Regions from separate parts of the Homo sapiens genome. Here region 1 is linked to region 2. The links are contacts of gene promoters, found by promoter capture Hi-C in blood cells and fetal thymus (Javierre and others, 2016). All regions are on one chromosome and are shown on one strand. Each heading gives the region's core, a stretch centred on a gene start or on the middle of the fragment in contact. The rest is flanking DNA. Distances are from core to core; before and after follow the strand shown.

Region 1 (5,625 bases), core at 2,778-5,277, 240 kb before region 2:
AAGACCAGCCTAGCCCACATGGTGAAACCCCACCTCTACTAAAAATACAAAAATTAGCCAGGCATGGTGGCGCACATCTGTAGTTCCAGCTGCTTGGAAGGCTAAGGTGGGAGGATCTCTTGAGCCCAGGAGGAGGAGGTTGTAGTGAGCCAAGATCGCGCCACTGCACACACGCTCCAGCCTGGGTGACACAGTGAGACTCCGTCTCCAAAAAAAAAAAAAAAGAAAACAGATCAGTATTGCTTGGGGCTGGGAGTGGAGGTAGAAATGGTAGAGGGAAAAGTTAAAGTGATAGGAATTTCCATGTTTTGATTGTGGTGGTGATTATAAGACTTATGCATTTGCCAAAATTTGTGAAACTGTAAATTTATAATGGATATAATTTATTTATGTCAATTACACCTCAACAAGTACATTTTTAAAAAGGATTGCTCAGGTTGCTGTGTAGAGAAGACTGTTAGATATATATGGACCTAATCTAATATTAACAATGAACAGTTAACCAATTAATATTTCCTTGATTTATTCTAAAAATGAATCCCAAATTCAGTTTTTCTGAGTAACAATTCCTGGCATATTAACAACATTGCTTTCACATTTGTATAATGCCTACTTCTACTTACATAAAATATATAAGCAGTAACCTCAAAACTATTAAAGAAATAATAGAATGTTTTACCTGTAATTAAAAAAAAAAACTATTTGCTGACAAATATTCAACACTTTGGATGCTTAAAACGCGGGGTTTTGTTTTCAGGTTTTTTTTGAGACAGAGTCTCACTCTGTCACCCAGACTGGTATGCAGTGGCACGATCTCACTGCAATCTCCACCTGCCAGGTTCAAGTGATTCTCCTGCTTCAGCCTCCCGAGTAGCTGAGACCAGAGGCACATGCCACCACACCAGCTTATTTTTGTATTTTTAATGGAGATGGGGTTTCACCGTGTTGGCCAAGCTGATCTAGAACTCCTGACCTCAGGTGATCTGCCCACCTCGGTCTCCCAAATGCTGGGATTACAGGCGTGAGCTACCATGCCTGGCCAAAATGCTTTTTTTCCTGCCTTTTTTTTTTTTTTTTTTTGAGACAAGGTCTCAATCCTTTGTCCAGGTTAGAGTGCAGTGGCCCGATCACAGCTCACTGCAGCCTCAACCTGCTGGACTCAGGTGATTCTCCCACTTCAGCCTCAGGAGTAGCTGGGACTACTAGCATGCCACCACACCCAGCTAATTTTTTGTATTTTTTTGTAGAGATGGGGCTTTGCCTTGTTGCCCAGGCTGGTTGTGAACTCCTGGGCTCAAGCAATCCTCCCGTCTCAGCCTCCCAGACTGCTGGGGATTGCAGGCATGAGCCACTGCGCTTGGCCTTAAAAATGCTCTTAAATTCAGGCCAGGCACGGTGGCTCACACCTGTAACCCCAGCACTCTGGGATACCGAGGCGGGCAGATCACCTGAGATCAGGAGTTCGAGACCAGCCTGATGAACATGGAGAAACCCCATCTCTATTAAAAATAAAAAAATAAAAAAATTAGCCAGGCATGGTGACACATGCCTGTAATCCCAGCTACTTGGGAGGCTGAGGCAGGAGAATCGCTTGAACCCAGGAGGCGAAGGTCGCAGTGAGCTGAGATCGCGCCATTGCACTCCAGCCTGGGCAACAAGAGCAAAACTTCTTCTCAAAAAAAGCTTTTAAACTCATGTTTATCATGCGAGAACATGTAGGTTTTGGAAGCATTAAAATTTAATTTATAATTTTACATTTCTCTGTATTTATTTATTTATTTTTTGAGACAGAGTCTTGCTCTGTCGCCCTGGATGGAGTGCAGTGGTGCAATCTCGGCTCACTGCAACCTCCGCCTCCCAAGTTCAAGTGATTCTTCTGCCTCAGCCTCCCAAGTAGCTGAAATTACAGGCACCTGCCATCATGCCCAGCTAATTTTCATATTTTTGTAGAGATAGGGTTTCATCATGTTGGCCAGACTGGACTCAAACTCCTGACCTCAGGTATCTGCCCACTGCGGCCTCCCACAGTGCTGGGATTACAGGCGTGAGCCATCACGCCCGGCCCGGGCTAATTATCTTATTTTTAGTAGAGATGAGGTTTTGCCATGTTGGCCAGGCTGGTCTCGAACTCCTGGCCTCAAGTGATCCATCCACCTCGGCTTTCCACAGTGCTGGGATTACAGGATTACCGCACCCGACCTTATTTCTTAAACTAACAGTGGAAGAGCAGATACAATCCTTTCCTGACATAGTCCTTTTTTTCTATAGCAAATGTTTACACCTTCCTCCTAACACTGTGGTTTCAAAGGGAGCTGTGCAATAAATGAAGATGGGGAAAATACTTCTTTATAGTATAATACAATAAATAAATGTAAGAATAGCAGACTTAGAAAATGACAATTTTGTAACCATTATAGGAATAACTGGTTCAAGCAAATCACCAAGGAATGCTAAAATTTCTGGGTGAAACTTTATTTACAAATGAGATATTTACACAATCTATGGGAACACAGGTTACTACTTATTAATTACAAAGAGAAACCTGGTGGATACAATCTTAACAAAGTCATCAAAGATAACATACTGATATTGGGGCTCAGAAATCAATACCCAGGCCGGGCGCAGTGGCTCACGCTTGTAATCCCAGCACTCTGGGAGGCGGAGGCGGACGGATCACCTGAGGTCAGGAGTTCGAGATCAGCCTGGCCAATATGGTGAAACCCTGTCTCTACTCAAAATAAGAAATTAGCCAGGCATGGTGGTGCGTGCCTGTAATCTCAGCAACTCGGGAGGATGAGGCAGGAGAATCATCTGAACCCAGGAGGTAGAGGCTGCAGTGAGCTGAGGTTGTGCCACTGCACTCCAGCCTGGGCACAAGAGTGAAACTCCCGTCTCAAAAAACAAAAGAGGCCAAGTGCGGTGGCTCACGCCTGTAATCCCAGTACTTTGGGAGGCCGAGGCGGGTGGATCACAAGGTCAGGAGATCAAGACCATCCTGGCTAACATGGTGAAACCCTGTCTCTACTAAAAACACAAAAAATTAGCTGGGCGTGGTGGTGGGCACCTGTAGTCCCAGCTACTTGGGAGGCTGAGGCAGGAGAATGGTGTGAACCTGGGAGACGGAGCTTGCAGTGAGCCAAGATCACATCACTGTACTCCAGCCTGGGCGACAGACTCCGTCTCAAAAACAAACAAACAAACGAAAGAAACAAAAGAAATCAATACCCCCAAATATGGCTATGCTAACCAAAGAAGCCTCAAGGTATCTCTGACACCTCACTCCATCCACACAAACCTTCTCTTCCAAAGCATACAGTAAAGCTTAAATTCCTTTATGCGCCTAAAATCCAGACCCACCTAAAGGAACAACTGTTCTTCTGTATGTTGTAACACCACAAATGTAACCACACCTAAATGGACCCTTTCACAAGATAATGTGCAGGTTAATCTCTGTTCCCTGATCCATTCATTCTCCCTAGTAATCCCCTCAGCGGAATTCCTCTTCTCCAGGTTTCCATAACCTGTTTTGCCAGAATGGTATATAACCTCTGAACCACCTGGGGGGATGGGCAATCACTCTGTGATAAATTTGTATGCCTTGGCCAGCCCAGTGACTCACGCCTATAATCTCAATACTTTAGGAGGCCGAGGCAGGAGGATAGCTTGAGCTCAGGAGTTCAAGATCAGGCTGGGTAACATTTATCTACAAAAATACAAAAAACTGGCTGGGTGTGGTGATGCTCACCTATAGTCCCAGCTACTCAGGAGGCTGATGTGGGAAGATCACTCGAACCCAGGAGGTATGGCTGCAGTGAGCTGTGATCATGTCATTGCACTCCAGCCTGGGTGACAAAGCAAAACCCTGTATCAAAAAAAAAAAAAAAAAAAAAAAAGAAAGAGCAAGCTATAGCAAAAGTACCTTAGGAAAAAAAAAATCTGTATGCCTTTTTTTCCAATTCATATGCCTTTTGTGAGTTGATTTTTCTTTTTTTTTTTTGGTAGCAACGCGATCTTGATATGTTGCCCAGGCTGGTCTGGAACTCCTGGCTTCAAGTGATCCTCCCATCTTGGCCTCCTAAAGTGTTGGGATTAGGATTACAGGTGTGAGCCACTGAACCTGGCCTTGTGAATGAGTTGATTATCTTTTGGAGACAAGGTCTCTGTTGCTCAGGCTGGAGTGCCATGATGATCATGGCTCACTGCAGCCTGGACCTCCCAGGCTCAAGCAATCCTCCCACCTCAGCTGGGACTACAGGTGCACACCACCATGCCCAGGTAATTTTTTATTTTTTTGTAAAGACAGCATCTCACTATGTTGCTCAGGCTGGTCTCAAACTCTTGCGCTCAGGCAATCCTCTCACCTCAGCCTCCCAAAGTGCTATGATTATTACAGCATGAGCAATCATGCCCAGCCAATGAGCTAATGAGCTGATTTTTTCAAGGGTGAGGGGGAACTTTCACCTTGGCCTGGACAACAATTGAAGAAACTGACTTCACATCCCTTCTGATGTGATGTATTACTTACATAGCTTTCTTGCTAAAACTGTATAACCTGAAACTAACCATGAGGAAGTGATTGGACAAGCTCAAATTGAAAGGCTGAAAATTTAATAATATAATGGGCTCGTCACTCTTCAAAAACGTCAGTGTTATAAAAGAACAAAAAAAAAAAAATCTGAAGATCCATTTTAGATTAAAGGAGAATAAAGTGTGACAACTAAATGCAAAGCTTGATGCTGGACCAGTTCCTGGATTTCTTAAAAAGTTTCTGTGAAGGACAGTACTGAAACAACTGGCAACATTTGAACCCAACTGTATACTAGGTAACAGTATTGCATCAATATTAAATTTCCTGAATTTGGCTGGTTGTGGTGGCTCACCTTTGTAATCCCAGCACTTTGGCAGGCTGAGGAGTGTAAACACTTGAGGTCAAGAGTTCGAGACCAGCCTGGCCAACATGGCGAAACCCTTTCTCTAGTAAAATACAAAAATGAGCCAGGTGTGGTGACGCATGCCTGTAGTCCCAGCTACTCAGGAGGCTGAGGCAGGAGAATCGTTTGAACCCAGGAGGTGGAGGTTGCAGGGAGCCGAGATTGCGCCACTGTACTCCAGCCTGGGTGACAGCGAGACTCCATCTCAAAAAAAAAAAAAATTCCTGAATTTGATAAAATTACATTTTGGTCCACATTCTTATTCATGAGATATAAGTAACATCTCTGAAGGGTTCAGAAAAAAAAAAAAGAATAAGAATGTGTAAATATAATGCAAAAATAATAGTTATACAATATATAGGAGAAAGAAAGTAATGTGGTAAAGAGTGAACAATGTGCAAATCTAAGGGAAGAGTACATAAAAATTCACTGTAATATTCTTCCAACTTTTCTGTAGATTTGAATTAAAAAAAATCAAATTAACAAATAAAAAAACTAGTTGCCAGCCAGGCACGGTGGCTCAGGCCTGTAATCCCAGCACTTTGGGAGGCCAAGGCGGGCAGATCATCTGAGGTCAGGAGTTCGAGACCAGCCTGGCCAACATGGTGAAACCCCATTTCTACTAAAAATACAAAAATTAGCCGGGTGTGGTGGTGCACACCTGTAATCCCAGCTACTTGGGAGGCTGAGGCAG
Region 2 (5,629 bases), core at 1,505-4,004:
AGACAGCCCCCTGCAGCCCCGGCCTTAGAAGGCTGTCCCAGGTCACACATCGAGTCAGGGTGAGGCTGTGGTGGATGGCATTCCCATCTGCCCTCTTCAAACCTCTCACCCCCTGGCTTCTGCAGGGTGGAGGCCTGGGTCACACAGGCAAGAGGAAAGGGGTCAACCTGGTGGCTCACTCGGGTTTCCATGACAGTGGGAAGGGGGGAGGTGGGCAGTGAGGTAGGCACGCAGCCCTCGCATCTGCTCTCCCCCATGGGTAGAACCTTCCTGATTGGCTGTGGGTTGTATCAAAAGACCTTTGACTGGGTGAGGCTGAGATGGGTGTGGTGGTTCCAGTGAGTCAGCCAGGTTCCCTTCCCCAGCCCTGGTCCCTGAGGGAGATGAGGACCGAAAGGCTTAGGTGACTTGATGGGGAGCACCCTTTCAGGGGCCCTGGAAGAAATGTTTGTAATTGTTCTGCTTTTTCCATGAGCTCTGGAGAGCACCCACCACCAAGCCCCCTGAAACCCACCAGTCCCTACAGCCTGGTCTTTCTCCCCACCTTCCCACTCCCAAACACATTTCCACAGCAAACTCCTTGGGAAGGGGCTTTTATATATTAAAAAAGAAGAGCTTTTATTGGGGGGAAAAAGTCAGTTTATTTGATGTGTTTCTTAGTAATGGAATTGTGGGGAAGAACAAAAGCGGGCTCTGGGACTCACATTGCTTTGGGGGAGGCTCAAGCTTCCCAGAATCCCTTGTCCCTCCCCACTTTGGGCACTTAGGGGTGGGGCTGGGGAGTGAGAGGGACAAGGCAGGGCATGATTGATTAAAGCTAACGAGCAGACAGAAGGCACTGGTGGGTCACATCTCGGGCCTGGGAGAGGGAGGGCGTGGGCCAGGCCCCATGTGACACCAGGGGCTCCTTGGCATCCAGGCTTGGCGTCTAGTCCTTTCCCTTCCCTTTCTTGGCTGTAAAACAAGAAAGAAATATTAATACCATATCAGCAGTTAGGCTGACCCATTGCAGACCGCCGGCTCCACAAACACCCGGGCATCAGGGAAGGAGAAGATTCTGCCCCCTAGTGGTTTCCAATCAGCTGACTCGGAAGCAGGGGATGGGGCAGCCATTGTGATGTGGACATGGGACATCCCCAGCTTCCTATTTCCACTTGGGATCAGAAAACCTTCAAGTTTCCAGTCCTAGTCCTGGTCACAGCAGCCCTGGGCATCCTCAGCCTCCTCACCTGAGAAGCGGGCAGATTCACCCCTGCCCTGCTGGCCTCGCTGGGCTGAGTCACGAGTGAGCTGAGAGGCCCAGGGTGGGCCTTGACCTCCTCCCAACACTAGAAAGGGCAGAGCTGACCAAATGCTGCCCGTGGCTGGAGAGCTGACAAAGGCAAGCCGTTCCAGGACACTCTCCCTGGGTCCTAAGCCAGATGCTCCAATGGAGTAGTTTGAGTTGGTCCCTATTTGGGCCAGGGAGGATTTATGTCCCCAGCATCACCTGCGGCCTCTCTTGTAGTGCCCATCTTCAGACTTTTCCAGGCAGGGAAGCCAAGTGAGGCGATGTCAGGAAGCCACTGGCCAGGACTCAAAACTTAAGGTTTAACTTGGAATTGTCCCCTCACAGGCGGGGGGGGGGGGGGGCAGCCCCCCGCGACAGCCCCACCCCCTTCTCCTTTCGCTGACCTTTGGCCTTTGCTTTGGTCTTGGGGGTGCAGGGCTTGGTGACGCGGATGGTCTCCTGGCACTGAGCATTGTAGCGCGCCTTCTTCAGGGTGCCTTGGCGGACTTTGGTGCCTGTGCCCCCATCACACGCACCCCAGTTCTCAAACTTGTACTTGCAGTCGGCTGGCGAGAGAGCGGCCCAGGTCAGCGCTGCGCGGCCCGCGGCCCCGCCCTCCGCCAAGGGTCCGCCCAGGCTTCGGCGAGGCTGTGCCCCCCGTCTCCTGCCCTCTGACTGCGCCCCGCCTCACCTCCAAACTCCTTCTTCCAGTTGCAGGGCACCCTGCACCGGATGCGCTGGGTCTGGGCCCCGCAGGTGCCCTCGCGGAAACCCACGCCGCAATCCTTGCTGCTGGGGGTGCAGGGCCCCCAGGCCCACTCAGCGCACTCGCTCCCCGGGCCGCCCTTCTTCACCTTATCTACAACGCGCGAGGAACAGAGTTCAGGACTGGGGCACGGGGAGACTCCCTCGGGAGCCGCCTTCCTGGGGTTCCAGGCTAGGAACCCAGGCGGCCCAGCCCAGAAGTGGAGGGGCCTCGCCTGCCCGTCCCCAGCCCTCCTTCGATCATCCCCCATCACCTTTCTTTTTGGCGACCGCGGAGGTGAGCGCCAGCAGGGCGAGGAGGGTGAGGAGGAGGAAGCCTCGGTGCTGCATCCTGAGGGGAGAGCCCGAGTCTGAATCCCTGGCCCGTCCCCTTCCCCACCGGGGGCCGCGTGCAGGGCCCTCCCACCTCCGCGTGCTCCACTTTCCAGGCCCCAAGTCGGGCTGCTAAGGTGGCGGCGGTGGGAAGACTTGGGGCGGCCCCTCGCCGCTAGCCCGGACGCACCGCTAAGAGGCGACTCCCCGGGGGACGCCTCGAGCCCAGGACGCAGCTCAGACCCCCACCCCCGCCTCCAGCCCCCAGCCCCTAGATCGGCCGCGGCCGGGCGGACCAGGGGCCGCCGCGCGCTCACTCGCTCGCTGCCCGCGCTGCTTCGCTCCCTCCCGCGCCGGGCCCGTCCCGCTCCGGCCGCCGCGGCCCCTTTTGTCTCCAGAACCGGTCTGAGCCGGTCACATGGGCCCCCGCCCCCTCTCCCCACCCCCCCAGGGAAGGACCCGCCCCGCCCCCTCCCCTCAAACCCGCACCGCCCCCGACCCCGGCGTCCCCGCCCCCGCTCCAGCCCGCGCCCCCCGCGCTTCTACTCCGGCGTCCGTGTTCCCGGCCCCGCGTCCTCGCGTCTCCCCGCCGGTGCCCTCTGCGCTGCGACGGCGGCCTCTCCCGGCCCCATCTTCCGAGCGGTGGTCTCCCGACCCCGGGCCCCGTCCCGCCCGCGCACACCGGCCCCCGGCCCACTCCCTGCGCCGCCGCCCGCTGCCCCCATCCCAGGTCGTCCCCTGCCGTACGCCAAGGCCCGGGCCGTTCTCAGGCCTCAGCTTCTCTTGCCTGCCGCGGAGCCCCGGCGCCTGTATAACCCGCGGGACCCGCTCCCCTCCACGGCCGGCTCAGCCCTGGCGCCCTGCTGGCTGCTGGGGAGGGGGCGCGGCCCACCTGGGGCGGTTTCCGCGGGTGGGCAGGGAAGCGCTCTGCTGTGCTGGGGGGAGTCTGGGACCCGGTCGCCCAGAGAAAGCCACGGGTGCGGTCGCCCAGTGCCTTTCCGGGAGCACAGGCTTGAGGGACTGCGAGTGGGGGTCCTGGGGGAGGAGCCCGCAGGCCTGGATTTGGTGAAACTTGGCGCTGACAGGAGCCGTCTGAGAAGTTCCAGATCCAGCCACATCGGCAGCTGCAAGTGCCCACCCCCTCTAACCCTGGGCCTGTGGCATTGCCTCGCCCGGTTCCCCCAAACCGGGAGAGCCCCCGAGGCCTGGGGGAGGGGCTTGCTCAAGGCCACAGGGCAAATGGGCCACAGAACCCGGGCTCGCCCCCGCCCCACCCCTCTTTCACTTTCATTGTTGTTCTCCGCGGGAAGCGGGAAGCCGGAGGGATCGGCCCCGCCCCCGGCCCCGACGAGCGCGGCCGCCGGGCAGAGGTCAGGAACCGGGCAGGCCCTGGGACCAACCACCAAACGGGAGCCGGGGCCCCAGGAAGGTGCTGTCGACAGCGTCCAGTCCCCCACCCCGAGGACAACCCCGCAGCCCCCGCTGCTTGTTAGACCTCCCCCGCAAAAGAAGAAAAGCAGAAAAGAAAAAAAAATCCACTTTACTGAGTCACACCCAGCTGTAAACATGTCACCGTGAGAGTCCCGCCCCCCACCCCCAGGCCGCACAGTCCGCGATGAAATGACAGGGGAGCGGGGAGGGTCGCCGGAGCGGGTGCCAAGCAAGGCAGGGCAGGCAAGTGCAGCAGGCGCTGAGTTTCCGGGAGGAAGCCCGGAGGAGGTGGGGTGGGGCAGGAGCGGGGGCTGGGGACCCGGCCGAAGACCAGGGGGCCCAGGAAGCCTCTTCCCGAAGGCCTCCCCCTCTCCAGCCCCTCCACTCCTGGGAGGGCATCTGCTGCGGCCAGGGAGCGCCCTGCCCCAGAACCCCGGCAAAGGCATATCCAACCCAGCCGTGTCTTGTTCCCTGTGAGCCTCCGGGTCCGGCGGGGTCCTCAGGGGAACAGGTGAGGCCCCCCCAGCTCCTGAGTCCAGCCCTAGGTCTGGGCGGCTCCTTAGGGGGCGGCATGGGGCTCTTTCCCTGGGGCCTAGGTCCCCCCGTGGCCGTCCCACTGGAATGTGGCAGTGAGGTGGGCAAGGAAGGCGCTCGTCCCCTGGCCGCATTGTCCCTCCTGCTGCCCGTGGGCGGCCCGCTACACAGCCGTCTCCTGGTCCTCCCGCTGGATCATCTGGTAGTGCTGCCGGTTCTCCAGGTAGGCGGCCAGCTCGGTGTCCTGAGCCTTCTCAGCCCGCTGCCGGGGAGTGTCGCCCTGGAGGAGGGCGGAGCTGCGATCAGCAGGGGCCAGAGGCAGGCCTAACCCCTAGCAGGCTGAGAGGCAGGGGCTCTACCTCCCTGTGGCCTGGTCAGGGAGGGAGGCCTCTCTGCCCACCAGCTCCTCCCCTGCTGGCTCAGGTTTCCCAGGGTCTGGACTGTGTCTTCCCAGGGACAGCCCCCAGCCCCAGCTCCCGCCTAGGACCTTGGGAAAGGTTTGGTTGGTGCCCTCGTGGGCTCCCTGCCTGCCGTCTGCTCACCTGCTGGTCTGTCTTCATGAGCGAGGCCCCGGCCTCCACGATGTAGTGGCAGATGGTGCGCTGGCCCAGGGCCGCTGCTTGGTGCAAACAGGTCTCCCCGCTGGGGGAGCAGGGGCTGGCTGTGTACCCCATCCCGTCCCCTGATCCACCCATCTGTCTCCCAAGGGCCATCAGAAAGGGCAGGAAGTTCAGGGCTCTGGGGCAATAGGGGTGGCCCAGGGGATGACAGATGTGACCAGGAAGTTTATGGGCTCTGACCTGACAAAATGGGAGGGGTGGGGAAAAGGGTGGTTTCCGGGGTGACCACGGTTCTGCACTGCCCAGATACTTACTTTTCCTCCACCGCATCAAGGATCTCTGGGGGGGCTGGAGAAGGGGAGGTGGTGGTCAGAGAGGCCTGGCAGCCCCTCCTCCTCCCACCTTGGCCCCAGGCCCTGGGCTCCACTGCCCGGCTCACCGTGGTCCAGCAGGTAGCGGACCACATCCTTGCTGCCAGTGCTGACTGCGTGGTGCAGGAGCGTGCGACTCTGCTCGTCTCGGTGCATGAGGTCGCCCCCAGCTCGGTGCAGCTCCTGGAGCTGAGGGCAGGAGGCATGGCAGGGCTGGACCTCCTGGGGCCACCCCTCCTTCCCTGAGCTCACACGCTGGCCCACAGCCGGGTACACCAGCACAGGCCTGAAACGAGTGCGCTCACACATCTTACTCCTGAGTTGCCTCTGTGGGTCTCTCTGGAGCACACCGGAGGAGGGGCCTCTCACCCCACAGCCTGTGGGCT

Evidence for each region. The method cuts DNA at HindIII sites, captures the fragments that hold promoters and counts their contacts. A CHiCAGO score of 5 or more calls a contact.
Region 1: a contact is called between a fragment that was not itself captured here and the fragment with the promoter of MDK in region 2, in 3 of 17 cell types (endothelial precursors, M0 macrophages and megakaryocytes). The highest score is 7.2, in endothelial precursors.

The regions. Positions count from the first base shown.
Region 1 is chr11:46,623,538-46,629,162 of GRCh38, reverse strand. All of the region lies in intron 1 of ATG13 (autophagy related 13), which reads right to left. Among named protein-coding and RNA genes, the nearest start is that of ATG13, 8.8 kb to the right of the region's middle. The HindIII fragment of the contact is 1,408 bases long and covers 3,324-4,731 here.
Region 2 is chr11:46,378,794-46,384,422 of GRCh38, reverse strand. MDK (midkine) reads right to left here and starts at 2,754. Exons shown (of 5, transcript NM_002391.6): 1 at 2,665-2,754; 2 at 2,290-2,366; 3 at 1,962-2,129; 4 at 1,675-1,836; 5 at 622-954. The coding sequence starts at 2,365. The coding sequence ends at 929. DGKZ (diacylglycerol kinase zeta) reads right to left here. Exons shown (of 31, transcript NM_001199267.2): 28 at 5,312-5,432; 29 at 5,187-5,220; 30 at 4,855-4,954; 31 at 3,872-4,592. The coding sequence ends at 4,476. It overlaps CHRM4 (cholinergic receptor muscarinic 4), which reads left to right. Exons shown (of 2, transcript NM_000741.5): 2 at 1-634. RefSeq lists silencers at 1,770-2,064, 2,040-2,089, 2,510-2,619, 3,050-3,249, 3,680-3,889 and an enhancer at 3,389-4,023. The HindIII fragment of the contact is 6,060 bases long and covers 729-5,629 here.